Regions from separate parts of the Homo sapiens genome. Here region 1 is linked to region 2. The links are contacts of gene promoters, found by promoter capture Hi-C in blood cells and fetal thymus (Javierre and others, 2016). All regions are on one chromosome and are shown on one strand. The core of a region is centred on a gene start or on the middle of the fragment in contact, and the rest is flanking DNA. Distances in the headings are between cores, read along the strand shown. Region 1 overlaps SNX16 (sorting nexin 16). Region 2 holds the start of CHMP4C (charged multivesicular body protein 4C).

The links. Contacts are between HindIII fragments. The CHiCAGO score rates a contact against its expected background, and 5 or more counts as called.
Region 1: a fragment that was not itself captured here is called in contact with the fragment with the promoter of CHMP4C in region 2 in 1 of 17 cell types (neutrophils); the score reaches 5.3 in neutrophils.

What each region holds. Positions count from the first base shown.
Region 1 is chr8:81,816,069-81,819,145 of GRCh38, reverse strand. All of the region lies in intron 4 of SNX16 (sorting nexin 16), which reads left to right. Among named protein-coding and RNA genes, the nearest start is that of SNX16, 25 kb to the left of the region's middle. The HindIII fragment of the contact is 4,872 bases long and covers 1-3,077 here.
Region 2 is chr8:81,730,939-81,734,169 of GRCh38, reverse strand. It overlaps CHMP4C (charged multivesicular body protein 4C), which reads right to left and starts at 1,722. Exons shown (of 5, transcript NM_152284.4): 1 at 1,354-1,722. The coding sequence starts at 1,543. The HindIII fragment of the contact is 11,241 bases long and covers 677-3,231 here.

The DNA.
Region 1 (3,077 bases), core at 269-2,768, 85 kb before region 2:
TTGTCTTCACACTATCATTTATCTGTAAGGGATTCAGTACGAAAATTCAGTATTTTTAATTCTACATCTATTTTTTTAAAGTTCAGGATGGATCTGGATTAATAGCAGTTCATGGCTTTAAAGAAAAGAAAATAGTATCCAAACATTAATATGACAGAACAATTGAAATAAATGAGAATATTCTTTTAAAAAACTACTTGGGAGATATGATAGCCATCTTTACATACTTGAAAGATTTGAAAGATTGTTTTTGGAAGGAAGGATTGATCATGTATATTTAAGAGTAGTGCTTCTCCAACTGTAATGTGTCTGTGAATCACCTGGGATTTGTTAATGCTGACCCTGATTCAGCAAGCGTGAGGGGAAGATTTTGCATTTCTAACAGGTTTCTAGGTGATGCTGATACTGGCTGGTCTAATAACCTCATTTTGAATAGCAAGGCTAACATATAAAATAGGAATAACAACAAGAAGTTAGAGGAAGGTACTATCAGCTCAGATTTTAAAAAGTTACTTGTCATTTCAAGCTGTCCAATATAAAAATGTTCTGCCTTTTGAAAAAGTAGATTTCTCTTCATCTTAACTATTTGAAGAGAGTAGATAACTATCAGTGGTATCAAAGAGGGAATTATTAAATGGGATATGTTTGATTAGATGACAAGTTAGGTTTCTTCTAGTTAAAAAAAATTCAATAATTCTCTACTTGAACAAGAATACTTAAAGATAACTTTTGTACATTTGCAACCTGAACTATCTTTTCACAGGAAATGTGATCATTAATGTCTCTAAGTTGTTTTTATTTTTTTAATTTAAAAAAGAAAATTTAAGATATTCAGAGAAGTTAATCTTAGTATTTATATAAAATGAAAGAAGAATTCAGTTATTTACACAGTAGTTCATATAATGCTATCTCATGAGAATCAACACATTACTAAGGTTGGTTGGATGGTTTTTGCTACAAAATGTTATTTTGGTAGAAATTAAATTACAGATAGTTATAAAATTTGCAATAAAGTCAAATATGTTGTTCTTAAGAGCATAGTTTGAAAATACGGTAAAACTCTTTAAACAAAATTCAAGAGAATCAAAGAAACAGGTGAATTTATAGTACAGATTTGCTCTGATAATTAAAACAATGCTGAGGGATACCATAGGTGATTTCCTTATCTGCCTTTAGTAAATTAAGTCAACACCTGACCCCAATTTTAAAATAGGTTTCCCAAACACAGTAAAAATGTATTCCAGATAATAAAAGGAATAATGGCACACATAGACAGTCAATAAATATTCACTGGATCTAAATAAAGTTATGTAGTCAGTGATTCTCAAGCAAGGGTGAGGGTTTCCTTTCCTAGGGGGAAAAATGTATCAGAATTTCTAAGAAAGGAATTGTTTTCTCAATTACTACCATCTTCCAGAGATTCTTGTGTGTCCTCTCCTTAGAAAGAAAATAGAGTTTGAGGGTATTGACTGCTTTCTTTACTGACTGAGTCTTGTTGAAGCAGAGGAAATGTAATGAGCCACTGAAAAGGTTTTATGTAAATTAACATTGTAAAGCCAGTTTCAAATTTTATTCTGCTACTGATTAAAGAAAGTAAAGCATAGAGTATAACCTTGGAACTATATGGATAAAAACTTAAAGAATCCATTGGATTTCATGTAAGTAGAACTCTAGTGAGCCATAGATCATAAAGATTTTTAGGGAAGGTGAATGAAACAGAATAACCACTCCAAAATGATTCCTCCAGCTGGATACACTGTCAACATTCACTGTCCATCTTGGCTAAATTTCTACTGTAAACCAAAGATATAAAAAGGGATATATGTGTACTCCTTTACCCCTTTTTCTTTCCTAGCAGTAGCAGTCCAGTAGAGTAATTTGTAAACATAAAAGCAACATTAAAGTATGAGGAAATTTGAATATAAAACTGTAAGAAAATAATGTCTCACATTTGTCATATACTGAAAGTATTAAACAGGACCCTTCCATATGTTTCTTAGCAGTTTGCTTTCAGTCTTAAGTGCTATTTCCTCAGGGTTTCATACAAACTTGACCTCTCAATCCCAGATCAATTGATTTCCTAGGAGTCATTTGTATGTAATAGCAGGTGCCCCAGTATAAATAATGGGTGGATAGAAGCATAATATCTACATCAGAAGACCTTGTTCTATTCTGTGCTATCAGCCAACTGCAGTTTTCTACTAGAGGCCATGACTAGAGAGGGTTGCAGATAAATCAGATGTTTTCAGAGAGAAGTGTCCAGCAAGGAGAATCCAAATGAACCAAAGCATAAGACAGAAGAATTTAAAGGTAGAAAAGGACACATATTCACACTCAGGGAACAGATTGAAAGTACAGCTCTACCACCTGCACTTTCTGACAATAGGCAAGTAATTTCACCTCTCTGAAATTCGGTATCATTTGTGAATGAAGATCCAATACTTATCCTAATCTTACCTGATTGTCGTGAAAATTAAATACAATAGAATATGTGAGCATATTAAATACAATAAGATATGTAAAATTCCATTTAACTCTTCATGGACACCTCCTGACATCATCAACCTGTCTGGCCTAATCTGAAACCAAAAGCCCCATTCCCTTTTAGCATAAGTTGACATCCCCTTTTTGTAGTGTATCAAGAAATCCTGGCTGGGTGCGGTCGCGGTGGTTCGTGCCTGTAATCCCAGCACTTTGGAAGGCTGAGGCGGGCGGATCACCTGAGGTCAGGAGTGGGAGACCAGCCTGGCCAACATGGAGAAACACTATCTCTACTAAAAATACAAAAATTAGCTGGGTGTGGTGGTGGAAGCCTCTAATCCCTGCTACTCGGGAGGCTGACGCAGGAGAATCGCTGGAACCCAGGAGGCGGAGGTTGCAGTGAGCCGAGATCACATCACTGCACTCCAGACTTCAGCCTGGGCTGTTAACAAGAGCGAGACTCGTCTTAAAAAAAAAAAAAAAGAAAATCCTTTGTAAAAGGAAATTTGTAAAGATTTTATTTTGCAAATCTAAAATAAGGATCCACATTTATATTTTGATGTGTACATAGAGTTGTCTCTCAGTTCAACAGTCCA
Region 2 (3,231 bases), core at 473-2,972:
AAGCCATAATGACATGGTCTTTCTTTAGAAATTGCCATTGCATAACTTCCCAGAATATTTTCAGACACAAAGTAAAAGTAGAAATCAGTACTTACCTCTAAAACAGGCTATAATATGCACAAAAGTTATATGCAATAAAACAGCCTTCTTATTGTTGGTGGTAAGTGGGCATAAATGTAGCTGGCACACTTTTACAGAAAGAGGCAGAGTTCTCAAGTTCATCTCCTTGAGACTTCATTCCTTTCCTGCATTAAACAATGGCAGCATCCTGTAGAGTGAGCCAAATCTTCCCAAGGCTTCATTATGACTAAAGAAGCCCAACTTGAGGGTGCAAATGTTTGGGTTTGGTGGTAAGCAGAGTCCGATATTGCCACTTCCTTTTCTGGGTCTGCCATGAACCCGGTGTTACAAGAGCAAATCACTTCAACTTCTCACTGAGTTTTTATCTGTGCCACAGGTGCTGTTTAGAGGTATTCCAATAGAAGGAGCAGTATACTGAAGAAATCAGTTAACTCTGGCAAAGAACAGGTGTTCAAGGTGCAACAGGAACACCAAGAATCATTACTGACTCAAAGTCTCTTGTGTGTGCCAAAAGTCAGTGATAGGAAATTTAATAATTAATTCCTCTACCTTTTTTTTTTTTAAGACTTCAACTGCCGAACATCCAGCTAAAGCTTTCCACAGCTGAGGAGCAAGGTAGACCACAACGTACTAGAATATCCTTTTCTGAAGATTTACGTGCAAGTTAAAATGTGTAATTTAATATACAAACATACAGCAGAAAACTTCATGGTTAGTGTTGGAGTCAGCAAGGCTGGCCTAGAAAAAGCTGGACCAGGAGCAAAATTTACAGGGGTGCGAAAACACTCAGTAATCAAGACAAATAATATTTTAATGCAATATTTTTAAAATTCAAAATTAATATTAAAAAATCCACGATGAACAAATCATCACATTATAAAAAATAATTTTAAATAAAGATGTGCTGCACATAACAACATAAGAGCTAGAGGCAAATGAAAAAAATCAATACCAATCTTGTCTTTATTTAAAATTTTGATATTTTCTTCATCATTTCTTTTTTGGCATTGGTTCTGAGTCCTTTAGGTATTGCATTAAAGTATTGTTCATCTTGATTACTGAGATTTTTGGCGGCCCCTTACATTTTGCCATCAGTGCCAGTGTCTAGCTCAACTCACCCTAGTCAGTGCCCTAAGAGTCAGTACCAGTTCCTAGAAAAGACTGCAGGAGCAAACCTGGCCACCTGGGGACCTCAGTGGTGTGGGCCGATTGTCCCCAAGGGAAAGGCTAGAGGCAGATGGGCTCCCGCCTGTGGGCCAGACCCCAGCCTACCTCGCTTATTCTGCGTGCCGTGCTTCTTGGCCAGGGCGATTTCTCTCTGGATTCGATTTTCCAGGTACTCTTGTTTCTTGCCCAGCATCTCCTCAGTCTCCCGAAGTCGGACCAGGGCCTCCTGGGGACTGGGAGCGGCTCGGCTCTTAGAAGAGCCGCCCCCTTTAAAGAACTTGCCCAACTTGCTCATTGCTGTGGAGTTCGGAGGGCCAGCGATCCCGGGGGCCTCTCGGGAGCTCCCCGGGGCCGCGCCGAGGGGACAGGTGAGCAAGGCAGTCCTCTCGGGGACCCAGACCGGAAAGGCGGCCCTCCTGGGAATCAACAAGTCGTCCTGGACAGGTGACACACACTCCAGGGCATTTCCTGGCTGCCAGTTCGGCCCCGCCCCGCTGCACAGCGGCTGGGCGGGGAGGCCACCGCTGGGACGTCGGCTGGCCGGCGCCACCCGGCCCTCTGGGAGTTGAGCGAGAGCAGAGAAAAGTTGAAAAGACCGACAAAGACTGTGGGAAGTTGGCTTTTATCCACACTAGGGACGGTCCCAGGAACGAGGAACTAGTTTGTGAATGGCTCAAAGAAAAGCAAACCGATGTCCAGGGGTCTTGTGCAGGACCTGAAAGTGTAAGTGCGCAAGACTGGATATGCAAAATGCTTTATTCCATGCGTGTCTTTTGTGTGTACGTGAGCATAGTGTTCCTGTATTCAGGCCTCTGTTCTTGTGAATAAGAATATTCAGATCTTTTCCTCTAAGTGTATGTCATGTAGGTATGAGTGTGTGGACACAAAGGCTTCCAGGATATTTGTCTGCCACTAGGATGCAGGTGTGTGGGCAAGCTCGGAGCAGCTGCTGCTACTGGGCTTGTTTCTGCATTTGGTAGTCCGGGCAGGTTGATGTGTGCCTGGATGCTAGTTGGCACAGTGTAGATTCTAGATCATCCTTACAGGACTTGAAGTGGGTGAAAGATGGTGGCCATCTCTTTTCCTAATGTCAGGACTTCTGGAGTGTGTTGGTGGTTGGATTCAACTCTATAACTAGGAATCCGAAGTTTTCTGAATGATCCTCAGTGTATCAAAAACCTTAAATGGGGCTGCCCTGGTGTTTGGCTGTATGTCAAATGCTATTACATAGATACTTAAGTAACAAAAAGTAGAGAATATCCTGGAGAAGAGAAACATTCTTTTGTTCATGCTCACTATCTCAGCCCATCTATTAGATCTGCTGGCAAATAATTTAGTAAGATGAAAGGACAGCCATATGTAATGCTTATAGATGATGCAATACTGCTGCAAACCTGTGTCAAGCACACTACAAAGAAGTGGAATTATCTGTGTTTTACTCTTCAACGATTGCCATGTGCTCTGCATAATATAGCCGTATTTGAGCAACGTTACCCAACATTACCAAAACCTATTTTTGATTGTTAGCCAGCCACTGTTTAAGAGAAAAAAAAAAAAAAAAAACACCCATTACTCTGACAAATTCACCTTGATACCCAAGATCAATAACACAATTTTGTCTGCAAGCATACAAACACAAAGCAGCAAGTTAATCTATTTATCCAACATTGGCATAGATAGCATAAAATTTTGCCAAAGAAATTGAACACTTCCATAGGAGGCTTACAGTAAGCATCTTCTAACACACAAATATGTGAACTTATCATTTCACAGTAACTGCAGCCAGCCACCTCCTATCATTTCCTGGCTGGCCATGTAAAGCATGTATGGTCTATAACACACATTTTGCTCTAATTTCATGTATAAGTTGTCGTAAGTATTGTTTTTCTTTATTATCTAAATATTTCATGAATAAGTTTTGGAGTGTATTTTCTTGATTAGATTTTTAAGGCCCTTGAGAGTTGAGAAGTAGCACATATTCTG